Linked DNA regions of Homo sapiens: region 1 is linked to region 2. The links are contacts of gene promoters, found by promoter capture Hi-C in blood cells and fetal thymus (Javierre and others, 2016). All regions are on one chromosome and are shown on one strand. The core of a region is centred on a gene start or on the middle of the fragment in contact, and the rest is flanking DNA. Distances in the headings are between cores, read along the strand shown. Region 1 holds the start of MGAT1 (alpha-1,3-mannosyl-glycoprotein 2-beta-N-acetylglucosaminyltransferase). Region 2 holds the start of CNOT6 (CCR4-NOT transcription complex subunit 6).

Region 1 (7,122 bases), core at 3,654-6,153, 310 kb after region 2:
TACTGTTTATCCACGTAGTTCCTGGGATAGGATCCTCAGCTCTGCCTGGAAGTTAGTGCTGTGTGCACACACATGAACCAGGAGCCATACACCCTCTCACAACTGGCTGTGCCCAAAAGGATGATCAAGCCCAGACCTTGGCCAGCAGCGGTGACCTGCTTCTCCAGGAAGCACTGCTCAGGCCACCATCAGGAGAGTGCAGCAGCAACAAAGGCAAGCCAGACAGCCCAGAGGCATCACCCTACGTTTTGCCACATTTCTGAGACTCAAACTGGGTTGCTGTGAAGATCGGATGAGATGAGCCATGTTAGGTGTTTAGAACAGTGCCGGCATGACAACGTAAATATCGGCCGTTATTTCACTCCTTTCTCCCCATTTTCTTTGCTCCACTCTACCACACTCCCGTCTGGTACCCCAACAGCCAAGCCTACCGTCGGGGTCTTTGCATGTGCCCATGTGCCAGCTCTGCTCTTCCCTATCTTCTTCACCTGGCACACTCTGATTCGTGTCTCTGCCAAGATGCCTTCCTTGACGCCTGGGACCATGTAAGGTCCACCTACCCTTCACCAACAGCAACAAGCGCAACCACTTGCTCAACTTCTCTCAGGCCCCCTCAGCTGCAAGCTACATGAAGACAGGGATTGGCTCCACCAGCACTGCCAAGCCGCTGTGCTAGGGCTCTCAACATTCAGCAGATGTGCCTGGGATCTAAAAACATCCACAGTTCCTCAACTGTAACTGCCAAATCCAAGAAGCACTAAAACACAGAAGTTTTCTAAACTCAATTGGCAGTAAAACCTCATCCAGCCTCATTTGGTAAAATCTGATCTGATCTAATATGGGGCTATTTATAGTCTTTTCTCTCTCCTGCTGTGGCTATTCATACATTTTGCTACAGAAATAAACATGGTGGCTTATGCCATGCTGCTTCTGATCTTCCACTACAGAGTAAATTCACCAGATCATCTTTTCAAAATCCAAAAAATTCTCAATTCTGAAATACATCTAGGACCAAGAACTTCAAAACTATGAAAATGGAAGTACAAAGTTACTCATTGACTGCTAGCATCCCATGTCAAGCCCTCCAGCCCTTTAACCTGAACTCATTCCTTCGTAGGAAACACTGTTTTAAGTCTGGACTCTTGATGTAGTTTCCCAGCTGGTCCACCTGTCACTAATCTTGCTTCCCTCTCACAAACCTTCCCAACAGCAACAGCGCATCCTTCCTGACAAGTACACCTGGTCACGACATTAACTTGCTTTAAAAACCATCAGAGGCTGCACTGCCCACAAACTCAAACTCAAACTCATTATGATGACATCCAAAGCCCTTCAGACAGACTGTCTGAAACATCCCTTTTCAACCTTACCTCCAACCACTAACCCCATGGACCCTGCACTCTGGCCTCAGCAGGCTGCTTTTTCCCCAGTAAGCATATACCTGGACGCTGCTGTGTCTCTGCTCCAGCTGGTCCCTCATCCTGGAATTTGACCCACAGCGCCACCTGCCAGCCACCCACACATCCTTTCAGGCCACTTCAGGTGACTCCTTCTGTAACATCACAGACAGAGCCAGGCCTCCCTATGACTACACTCCCACAGCACTCTCTCCACGCTGTAACAGAATCTGTGGCCACGCTGACCTGACTCCCACCTTCCTCCTTAGGAAAAAAGACTCTATGACCTCTGTGCCCACCACAGTGCTTGGCACATGTATGAGGTTCAAGTGGCTGGATGGAAGACTGCTTGCACTATTACCGAAATCAGGGAGAAAGATGGCCAACGCAGCAGCAAGAGAGTGAAGTGTGACATTTTCCAGAGATGACCGCACATATCCCATTCCATATGCTCTTCTTACAAGTGATAAAGACACTCCTGCCTCCAGAGCTGAGGGTCTATGTTCCCTCCCTTTGGTTCTGGGAAGAGATGCTATGTGACTTGTGAGACTAACTCATAAAAGGCAGTAGTTTCCACCTGGTCCTCTTAAGATGCTGACTCCTAGGACCCTGCTATATGGACAGGACACTGCTACATGGACAGGACCCCCATAGGTATTCCAACTGACCACCCCAGCTAAGGTCCCAGCTGACAGCCAGCATCAACCGCTAGACACAGGAGACAGCCCTCCAGATTATCCCAGCCCCAGCTGACTGCAATGGCGTGAAAGACCACAAGCAAGAACCACATAGCTGAGATGTTAATAAAATGATTCTGTTGTTGTAAGCCACTAAGTTCTGGGGTGACTCATTATGCAGCCATCAGTACCTGAAGCAATGAGAGAAACAGACTCTAGATAATCTTGACAAGCAGGGCAAGTGCCCTCCCTGCCCTCTGTGCTCAGCTCCAAGTCCAAACACTGAGGCCCTGTCTCCACTCATGTCTCCTTCCTTAGTAGGTATCTACTCCTGCATAATAAATTACCTCGATATTTAGTGGCTTAAAACAATAGTTATCACTTACTCCTCACAGTTTCTATTGGTCAGAAATGTGGACAGTGCAGCACAGAGGAGATGACGTGTCTCTGCTCCACTATGCCTGAGGCCTTGCTGAAAGACTCAAAAGCTGAGGGCCAGATGCCCCTAGAGGCTCTCACATTCTCTCACATGTCTGTAGGATGATGTTGGCAGCAGCTGAGACCTTATCAGCAGGAGTGCTCACTAGAACCCCTCTATGTGGCCTGGAAATGTCCTGGAAGTGGTGGCTGCATTCCAAAGGTGAGTGTTCCAAGAAAGCGGGCAAGCCAGGTGAAAGTGTATCCTGTTCCTGATTCAGCCTTGGATCAGGTCTGTCTTACTCACTGGTCAAGGGAACCACAAGTCCCTATTGACATGCAAGGGGAGAGAATCATAAACCCCACCACTAGGTGGGAAGTGGACAATGTCAAACTATAACTACATGTGGAAGGGGATACTTACGGGTGAGGCCCTTGAGGGAAAATACAATCTGCTACACCTTCCTTTTTAAATAGAACAACTGCCCTTAATCCTGACCTGAGTTCCTAATGATGTCATTTATGAGACTGGCATGCAAGGCACAGACTCAAAACTGGCTTTGACTTTCTAGAGTTTTCACAACTCCTTTAGGGAGGTGACACAGCCAATCCACACCACCAGGTACAAAGACATCTGCACCATGGTGGGAGATGAGAAGTGAGTCTTTTCAGTACAAAACCCTTCAGCTAAAACCGAGGTGGCTCTGGGTAGGCGCCACCTGCCCCTATGGGGCTCACTCAGTTTCTGAAGCATTTGAAGGACTGCCTAGGAGCTGTGAGATCCTTTCTAACACTCTGATACCATGGTGTTCTCCAGCCTATTTCCTTTATCTGGCAAAAAATGTTTCTTAAATAGCAAGTGAACACCAGATAGTCAACTTCCAATCATGAGCAATAAGCGAGAAGTTATATTTAGCTGTAAAATTAAGTACAGAAGTGGAAGAAATGGTAACAGATTTTCCCTTCTATCTCTGCTTTGCTTAAAGTTAAAAAGCACTACGTAAAAATTCCAGAAAATATAGACATGTCACAGGTAATGGAACTCTAACTGAACTGCTTTCATGTTCGTTCTTAGACCTTGGCTGGACTCCTGTATCATGTACCAGGCCCATAATTTCAGGACGGAAAAAAAAGAAAGGTAGTCAGAGAAGATACACTAAATAATTCAAGAGTTGAGAGAATAAGACCTAGGAGGGAAGGGATGCAGGTTATTCATCCTGGAAAAGAAGAGCTAAATACAAGTGCCACAAAAGGCATGAGGCCTGGGATTCAGGCGATCCAGCCAGCAAGCCAGGCAACTTTGGACAAGTCACTTGACCCACTTGTACCTTAGTTCTCTCATCTATAAGGTGACAGGGTTGATTTGGTTCATCACAAGGTCCCACTGCCTGGATACTGACGACAGTGACAATTTCCCTACTGCCCCGAACAGTAATGAGTTTCCCTTGTTAACACAGGCCACTGAGGTCAGGCATACCGCAGTGCTTCTAACAGTGAGAATGAGACACAGAAGCAGGGAAATGGGTGAGCTCAATGGTCCCCAGAATTGGGAAGGACCAGGACGCAGTGATTGCTGATGGAAGGCAGATCCTGGATGATGTGAGCACGTAAGAGCAAAGGCTACACGGCCTGAAAAAATACCGTAAATGACTGAAAATAAAGCTGGGCAACATCTCAGCCAGTGATGTTCTAAAACAAAACGGCAGACCCACTACAGCAGCAAGGGTTAACCAAAGTGAAGCTTCAGCCTTCAGGGAGCCGGCCAGCCACAGTCCCTCTACTTCAGAGTTTATCAGACGCGGGCACTGCACGTCCCGGGGCTCTCTACTCCACACACGTTAGCAAACAGGAAGAAAAGTTTTCTTGCCAACTTATTATATATATATTTCAACACTGAATCAACATTTCCTTTCTGCTGAGGAGAATCAGCCTCTATTAACTTGGGGAAAGGATGCTGGAGTGAGGTTAGGGGGGAAAGGCCACTCCCCAATCCCACCCCCTCCCTGCCCCGCACGCACGGACGCCCGGGGCCGAGTTTCACAACATCCTCCCCAGTCCGCGGAGCCCGCCCTTCCTCTAACAGCTGGAGGCCCGGGATTCCGAAAGCAGAAGGCGGAGTTCCAACCTCTCGGCTCGGGAAGGGACTAACGCGCAGCTGGCACCGGGTCGGACCGGGCCGCTCCCCAGCCAAGCCCCCTCTCGCTAGCACTCATGGGCACCGGGGCTTTGGGGCGACCCGACGTCCCTTGGGCTCCCTCTCGGCGCCCGCGAGGCCTCCCCCGGTCTGACCTCCGTCCCCGGACACCTACTCACCAGGTCCTCCCGACGTCCTGGCCCCGAACTTGGCCTGCTCCGGGGCGCAGGGAGCGAGCCCGGTGCCCAGGCGCGTCCCAAGCGCTGCCGCGGCCGCCTCGCCTTTCGACTCGCCAGCCCTTTCTGCGGCGCGCCGGGGCCGGACGGCCGGGCGGGCAACGTGGCCCTTCCCCGGCAGGCGGGGCGGGGCGGGGCGGACTGAGGGGCGTGACCGACAGCCCCGCCGCGCCCCGCCCCCCGGCCGGCGTCCGCCAGGCCCCCTCCTCCTGGCCCGCCTCCTTTCCCCGCCGCTTCTCAGTCAACCCAGGACCCAAGTTTTCCCAGGACCCCAACTTCGGGAGTCGGCTTTCCGGCTCCCTGGCGCAACCCTGAGGGTGGACGCCCGACCCCACCCCTGCCCTCGGCCCTCCAGCGCAGCTGCCCAGCCTGGAGCCGCGCCTGAAGTGGGCCCGCAGTCCAGGAAAGGCGTTCACCAAACCCTAGGCCAAGGGCTGGGAGCCAGTCCCCCCACCCCAACCCAGGGGAGGCTGAGGAGCCCGGGTGGGAGCCCCAGGGTCGCGTGGGGCAGGGACAGAACAGGAACCAGGGTGCCCGACGGGGGGCCGGGGGGAAACACCTGTGCCAAAGCAAGCCGGGGCCAGCTGTGGCTTCTTCCCTTTTGTTTTTCCTTGGTGGGTGGGGAATGAGAGCTTCAGTTCTGAGTAAAGAAAGCGAAGAGAGACCTACCAGCAGGGGAGGCCCACCAGCCCTAGGCGGGAAGGACTCGGTCACAAGCTTTGGCGGAAGCACCATGGAAAAGCCTAGAACGGGTCTGCGCCCGGCTGGTGTTTTAAAGGGGAGGAAGGTGCGGACCTGAAGAGGAGGTGGAGGTGGACCCAGGCCCACCGAGGGGAGGGAGGGACAGCTCTTCCATAGCAAATACCTGTCGCTGAGCCAGGAGTAAAGTCTGGCCGGGAGGAGGACAGACGCAGAAGACCAGGGGCTCCAGCGCACAGAGCCAGTTTCGCCAGCGATCAGGTCTGAGGCCTGGATTCCACGAGGCCGGTGCAAGCCAGGAGCCAGCCCCACTCCCTCGCCCAGCTCCCTCCGGCCTGGCCCTCTGCAGAAGCCTGATGCCCACCCAGCTGTCTCACCATGGGACCCCAGGCGGTGAGGGTGGGTAGCCGAGGACTACAGGCTGCTGGGTAGCTGACTTCCCCAAGAAGGGCTGCTGCCATGTGATCAGGACCCACGCCCCTGACATCAACCCCTCCCCCGTGTTCCAGAGCACGGAGCAGCCCGGAACTCTGCGGCCTGTGGTTACTGACTGACTGCTCACTAACTTGTTTCTACATGAAACCACGAATCGTGCAGGGTTCTAGAGAAACAAAGGGCCGCGCGCACCCGCAGGCCCCTGCGTGGAGGCGAGGACCTAAATCAAAACTGCTAAGGGGTCACCAGGCATGGTGAGGGGCCTCACGGGCCAAACCCTCCCTCGGCCTGTCCTTCAAGCCTCAGCAGCTCTGCGGAGTGAGCGTTATCATCCCCATTCTACAGATAACTAGTTTGAGGCTCAGGGTAAGTGCAAACGTGCTGCAAGCCACCAGACCTGGTGGGGAGCATAGCCAGGTTTTAGACCGGGCACTCCTGTGCGCCCCCCAACACCCCCGCACACATCCTCCAGCGCCAGTGCTTTGAGAGGGCTCTGTCTCCTCTCAGGCGCTGCCGTGAAGCCTCCGCTTAAGTGGCCAGAGCCCAGACCTGGAGGTGGAGTGGGAGAAGGGCAGGCCCACCGAGGCCGCCGTGTGCAGTGTGCGATGTGCGGGAAGCCCGTGGCTTCCACTTTAGCTGACTGCGCGCACTGTGGCAGGAGCCTCGAACCCAGGCGGATATGCCAGTCAGAGGCCAGTGTCTGTCACCTCTGCCCTATGTTTGCCTAATGGAGGAGTCAGGGGCCTGGGGGCTCTGCACACTCACACTAGGTGTCAAGGCGTAAAGGAAAAAACAATTGTGTTTCCTAAAAGTGAAAAGGCTGGGAAACACTGGTTTGTAGATCCAAGACATGAGGAGCCAAAATCACCTTCCAGGAGAAAGGACAGACATCAGGGGGTGCTGAAAGGTGGGGGAAGATCAGATTCCCACCACTGACCCTGATACTTCTCCATCTAAGGCAGGTGAAGGGGAAACAGGATGGCGGCTGTTCGTGCACTGTAACGCACACCCCATCTCTACCACCCTTGGCTGAAATCCCAAGGCTCACAGGAAGATCCAAAAGGAGAAATTCCCGGACTGCAAGAGACCATCCCAAAAAGAAAGGGCCTGGTTAGGGAATCAGAATG
Region 2 (6,549 bases), core at 3,732-6,231:
TTGTTAATTCTGTCTTCATGAGTGCTGGAGGAGACAAATATTCAAACCACAGCAACATTCTCCATCAGTCCCAGGTTGGAATTCCAATGCCCCAGTCATGTTTGAGTGACAGACACCACGGCAACATCAACAATCATGGCCATCACCTAGGTGTCCATTTTCATTACTGAACCACCCATCTGAGGCCACCCTCTCAGAGTTAACAGGAATCCCGGACAGAAATATAGTTATAATTAAGCATTAATCAGGCGGCACTTAGGCCCACTTCCTTGTAACAGAAAGTCATGTAGCTCCGGACACTGACCATTATGCACCCCCGCTGTTACTACAGATGGGATTTCTGATGTTAGGGTCCTAAGGCTTTTGTTTAAAAATCACTTAAGCAGCCTGGCACAGTGGCTCACGCCTGTAATACTAGCACTTTGGGAGGCCGAGGCGGGCAGATTGCTTGAGGGCAGGAGCTGGAGACCAGCCTGGGCAACAAGGTGAAACCCCATGTCAACAACAACAATTAACGGGGTGTGGTGTATGCCTGCAGTCCCAGCCTCTCCGGAGGCTGAGGTGGGAGGATCACCTGAGCCCAAGGAGGTTGAGACTGCAGTGAGCCGTGATCATGCCACTGCACTCCAGCCTGGGTGACAGAGTGAGAACCTGTCTCAAAAATACAGTAACATAAATAAATATAGGCCGGGTACAGTGGCTCACACCTGTAATCCCAGCATTTTGGGAGGCCGAGGCGGGTAAATCACGAGGTCAGGAGTTCAAGACCAGCCTGGCCAACGTGGTGAAACCCCGTCTCTACTAAAAATACAAAAATTAGCTGGGTGTGGTGGTGTGCCTCTGTAATCCCAGCTACTCGGGAAACTGAGGCAGGAGAATTGCTTGAATCTGGGAGGTGGAGCTTGCAACAAGCCGAGATTGTGCCACTGTGCTCCAGCCTGGGCAACAGAGCAAGACTCTGTCTCAGGGAAAAAAATAAAAAAACAAAAATAAGTAAATAAATATGAAAGAAGTGCTCAAGCAGATCCTGAACTCCAGTCGAACAGGTGATGCCAACCAGTTTGAAGACCCCCAACCCTTGCCCAAAGGAACCAATCAGCATGAGAATCAGCACGGCTTCATCCTGCTCTCCTTGACAAACCAGCAATCTCCATTCTTCAGCCCACTCCAAAACCCTTGAAAATCCTAGCCCCAAACTCATCAGGGAGGCAGATTTGGTTTCTTCTTGTCTCCACATCCAGTGGCCCTAGGATTCAAACCTCCTCTGCTGCAGCCTGGTGTCTTGGCGCATTGACTTGCTGTGCACATCGGATGATGACCCTATTCTGGTGACGCATCCCTCTGTGCAACGCATTTACTGGTCAAATTAGAATTATTTTGGTTGTAAGCTACAGAAGCCAAACTCAAACTTAAGCGAAAAAAAAAAAGTATTGGTTTGTATACCTGGAATAGGTTCTGGTATAGGTCACGAGCTAAAGGAAAAAACTACTGAAACAAGTTGTCAGGCCCTTGCTCTGAGACTCCACATCTTCACCAGTGTCTCATCTCTCCATGTGGTGGGGAAGATGGCACTGGCTGCCACCAATTCATGCTGTCCTCGCTTAGCACGTATCAATCCCAGACTGGTCCTGCTTTGGTACTGCCTGACTGCAGTAGAAACAAGGCCCAGGCCAGGCCAGTGAGAGCCTGCCCTGGGTCTTTGGCTGGAATCATTAGGAAAGAAGCACCTTCTCTAAGCGGAGAAGCTGGTAGAATCTAAGCCTGCAGGTGTTGGTGGCATCTTTCCCGCTTGTGAGGCCTGCAGAGAGAACAGGATGGAGGGTGGGAGGTGAGATCGATTCTTGATGCCACCTTACAATGCCTGAATGGTTCAGCATTCCCTCTTTCAATTCAATTCCCTCCTTCTTGCAAAGAAATATTGAGTTGTGAGTTTTATAACTTGCAATGGGAGGTCTGGCCTAACATGAGGGGCACTTTGATCTGGCCTGAAAGGGTGAGTAGGTATTTTGCGGGGTTCTCCTCGGATATGCAGAAAGAAAAGGGCATGCACAGCAGAGCCACTATCGTACCCTCCTGGTGGCAGCAAGTCTCCCCAGAGGGCTCCAATTAGTCCACCCCGCCCTGCATGCACGCGCAGCTCCTCCACAGCTTATGTCCTCTCCTCTTGAATCTGGCTTGGGCTTGTGCCTGCTTTAATTCATAGAATATTGAGGAAGTGGCCTTCTTCAGAAGGCCTGGCAGCTTCGCTTTCCTCTTGGAGCCCCTGGTTGTCATGTAGGAAGTGCAGGATCACCTCCTGCTGGGGAAAGGGGCCACACACAAAGGCTGAAGGATGAGACACTGCGGGGGAGGCCTCGTTAGGGGGCAGCGAGGTGCCAGACATTCAACACCCAGCTGCCACCTTTGGTATAGGCATGAGGCCCCAAGGGTGAACATCAGAATCATGAGATACAGTAAAACTGTTGCTTTATGCTACCAAGATTTTGTGCAACAAGACCTCCCCTCCTCCATACAGTCGTGCCAGTCACAAGGGAATTGCTCCCTCTGTTTTTTGTTTTGTTTTGTTTGAGTTTTTTTTTTTTTTTTTTTGAGACAGTCTTGCTCTGTTGCCCAGGCTGGAGTGCCATGGCGCAACCTTAGCTCACTGCAACCTCTGCCTCCTGGATTCAAGCGATTCTCATGCCTCAGCCTCCTAAGTAGCTGGGATTACAGGTGCCCGCCACTGCACCCAGCTAATTTTTTTTTTTTTTTTTGTATTTTTAGTAGAGACGGGGTTTTGCCATGTTGGCCAGGCTGGTCTCGAACTCCTGGCCTCAAGTCATCTGCCCGCCTCGGCCTCCCAAAGTGCTGGGATTACAGGCGTTGAGTCCCCGCACCGGGCTGAGGTAGCTGCCTCTGGCCAAATTACAAAAAGGCACCCAGGCTGGAGCACAGACGGCCAGGGCACTCACACAGGGAGGAGAGGCCCTGCAGGGTGTCTGTCCCATTGGCCCCTCAGCCTGGGATACTCTGTACAGCACAGGGCCGCACAACTCCCTGCTGTACAGGAGGAGGTTGTGGAGGGATGGCCACAGGCAGCTTACTGGTCTACATGTGTTCTTCCTGACTCCTAAACTTCTGCACTGCTCTGTCTTTGCCCAGTGTCCTATGGCGCTAGAGGCCTGGGCTGTCACTCCTGATGTCATGGCAGTGCCAAGCGATGACCATCCCAAGGCCGTGCTGGGGAGAGGGGGATCATCTTCACCTCTGAACAGCTTTTGTCCCTCATCCTTTCCTTGCCCTTCCAGCCAGGTCTCCTCCACCCCAGGCAACAGCAACCCATTTCCCACATCCCCAGCTCTCAACAGCCTTCACTGAAGCAGAAGCCTCGGTTTGTTGCTACTGTTAGTTCCTGGAACCTGTCTCACTCTCATTTCTTCAGGGTTGATTTTCCAGGAAGCAGTTAGCAGCCTATCCTAGTTTGCCACATAGGTGGGCAGGCAGCTTTCCTTTTCCTTCACGCCTTCAACATATAGCTCAAATTTTTTTTTTTTTTTTGAGACAGGGTTTCGCTCTTGCTGCCCAGGCCTGAGTGCAATGGTGCGATCTCCGCTTACTACAACCTCCGCCTCCCAGGTTCAAATGATTCTCCTGCCTGCCTCAGCCTCCCGAGTAGCTGGGATTACAGGTGCAAGCCACCAGACCTGGCTAATTTTTTGTACTTTTAGTAGGGACGAAGTTTCGCCATGTTGGTCAGGCTGTTTTCCAACTCCGGACCTCAGGTGATCTGCCCCCCTCGGCCTCCCAAAGTGCTGGGATTACAGGCGTGAGCCACCGCGCCCGACCAATATACCTCCAATATTAAGTCTGTTGGGTGTTATTCTTGCCCCTAGACTGTGAGCTTACTCAGGGCTGGGTGGGGTCTGATTCATCTCTGTGCCCTGACCATCAGTCAACTAATATTTCTTGATGTAAGCATCATGAATCAGCCCAGTCATTTCTCTGCTGACCTTCAAACACCAGAGTTTGCCCTGAACACCTTTTGATCTTGGAGCACAGCAGCTGCTGTCCGTTACCCAGGCTAGGACCCCAGCACCAAAACTGTCCATTAATGTAATGGAATGAATTACCATTAATAGGCTGAAGTGGTATGTTAACTTACTCTTCTTTGTATAATTGAGGAAGGAATAATATTCGACTGTTCACGATTGAATGTCTTGTCTTTAGGCAGATCAAGATACTGGCTCCGGTCAAATACTGTGTTTCGACGTGATTGACAGGCGAAGGCTTAAGGAAAAGGAAGAGGAGAAAAAAAGGGGAGGACGATCAAGGAAAAGAGGAGATAAAAGTGGACAACCCAGCCGGGCGCGGTGGCTCACGCCTGCCATCCCAGCACTTTGGGAGGCGGAGGTGGGCGGATCACGAGGTCAGGAGATGGAGACCATCCTGGCTAACACGGTGAAACCCCGTCTCTACTAAAAATACAAAAAATGAGCCGGGCGCGGTGGCGGGCGCCTGTAGTCCCAGCTACTCGGGAGGCTGAGGCAGGAGAATGGTGTGAACCCGGGAGGCGGAGCTTGCAGTGAGCCAAGATCGCCCCACTGCACTCTGGCCTGGGTGAAAGAGCAAGACACCGTCTCAAAAAACAAAAAAAAAGTGGACAACCTGGGGCGGAAAAAGAAGTAGATGAAAAATGGAGGAGCGCTAAGGAGAGGAGAAAACAGAAGTGCCAAGGCAGGAAAGGAGCGAGGAGAGCGGGAACAGAAGGAGACGAAGGATGGACGGAGAGGAAGGGATGGAGGGCGGCAGGCAGGGAGGCAGGGCCCGCAGCGCGCCGGGCCGGTCCACCGCTCTCCAGCGCGGGGGTAAGGGGGCGGGGCCTGGGCAGCTGCGTGCCGGGAGCGACCCCCGCACCGAAGGGCGGATGGTTGTGCCCGGCGACGGCGCCCAATGAGCGGCCAGGATGTTGGAGCGCCGGCGGCGGTCCGGGCGCTCGCTGGCTGAGGGACGGCGGCCGCCGCCATGATGCTTGTTTGCTTTCAATGAAAACGAGGGGGGCGCGGAGGAGGAGGCGGCGGCGTCGGTGGCGGCGGCGACGGCGGCGCGGAGGCGAAGGCAGCGGCGGGCGCAGCGAGGAGGGCGAGGCCGGGGGCCGAGAGGGCGGGAGGGCGTAGTGGCGGCCCGTCGGGGCGGCTGAGGCGGGCAGCCGAAGCAGTGGCTCTCGGAGGGGGAACAAAGAGCAGCGACTAAGGCGGCAGAGGAGCGGCGGCGGTGGCGGCGCTGCAGCAGCGGGCGGGACTGGTATGGTGGTTCCACAGGGCAGACCCCGCTGCACTCACAGGGAGGAGGAGGCGGCAGCGGCGGAGGAAGGCGGCGCACCCCGAGAGGTGAGCGAGGCAGGCCGGAGGCCCGGTCGGGGCGCCGCTCCTCTCTCCGGCCGCGCACGGACCGCCCCCCGTCGGCCGGGCTCGGTCGCGGGCAACTTTCGTTTCGTGGGCGGCGGTCCCGCTGCTCCGCAAGCTGGCGGCTGTTGGGGGCCCCTTCGACGCGCCGCGATCGCGCCCCGCCCCGGGCCGCGCCCCCGGGCCGAGTCCCTGGGAGGGGGGCGTTGATTGACGGCGGCGGCGGCGGCGCGCAGAGGGGAGAGGGTCGGCGCTGGGCTCCCGGATCCCGGCCGGTCCCGGCTGCCGTCGTCGGAGGAGGCGAGTCCGTGTCCCGGGACTCGTGGCCAAGATGGGTGGCAACTTTTGAGAAGCGCCTCTGTGGGTGGCGCGCTGTGTGGAGTGTGGAGCTTCGCGCTCCGTGGCCACAATTACTGTCAAGCGGGAAACCAACTGCTTACCCCCTCCCCTAAAATGTTTTTAAAATTCAGTTTAACGCAGATTTTGAGGGAGAGGACGGGGTGGATTACAGGTTAAAGAAGCACTTGGCATGCAATGAGGATGCTTATTTTATAGTATTGCGAAGGATTCGGAGATTGTACTGGTTTCTACAAGCAGTTTTCTCTGGTAACCCAAATTGCATCCCTCCTTTTTGTTTTTCAGCACTAATCGCTATTTTCTTTGGAAACTTCCTTTGATTCTTTACCTCCTTCACCTTCCCCGAAGAGCCTGCTAACCAACACCTGTGGCCTTCTGTTTTTAACTGTTGTTGCCATTGACAGCGTTGTGAATGGTCATCTCGCTCGAGCTCTTTGGATTTGTTGTTACTGTGTAAGCTGATGTGTTTTAGATAATCTGCTTCAATTTGAGTTCCCATACTTACCTGTTTTCCAGGTGGATTGTCTCATTGTTAGTGCTGAATCTTCTTGCCTACTTGTATCTGGGAATTTAACTTTGAAGAGGAAGAGAGTGAATATGAATAACTGAAAAATAAAATGGTGTGTAGTAGCACTTTGTATTTTTTACAATATACTAGAATTTACTACTCTAGAACAGATTAGTAGGCTGTAGGAGTGGACGTGGGCCATTGATCAAAAGGGTTTAAAGGCTTTTTTGGGGAATTGCTGTTAAGACATTTATCACAGTCTTTATTTAATTTATTTATTGTTTTTGAGACAGGATCTCACTC

The links. The method cuts DNA at HindIII sites, captures the fragments that hold promoters and counts their contacts. A CHiCAGO score of 5 or more calls a contact.
Region 1: a fragment that was not itself captured here is called in contact with the fragment with the promoter of CNOT6 in region 2 in 1 of 17 cell types (fetal thymus); the score reaches 6.3 in fetal thymus.

The regions. Positions count from the first base shown.
Region 1 is chr5:180,797,876-180,804,997 of GRCh38, forward strand. It overlaps MGAT1 (alpha-1,3-mannosyl-glycoprotein 2-beta-N-acetylglucosaminyltransferase), which reads right to left and starts at 4,931. Exons shown (of 2, transcript NM_002406.4): 1 at 4,805-4,931. RefSeq lists enhancers at 1-131, 4,243-4,950, 4,951-5,657, 5,801-5,910, 6,365-7,070 and silencers at 4,761-5,120, 5,291-5,370, 5,381-5,430. The HindIII fragment of the contact is 1,346 bases long and covers 4,231-5,576 here.
Region 2 is chr5:180,489,398-180,495,946 of GRCh38, forward strand. It overlaps CNOT6 (CCR4-NOT transcription complex subunit 6), which reads left to right and starts at 4,982. Exons shown (of 12, transcript NM_001370472.1): 1 at 4,982-5,366. RefSeq lists silencers at 4,722-4,921, 5,052-5,191, 5,362-5,461, 5,492-5,751. The HindIII fragment of the contact is 20,633 bases long and covers 1-6,549 here.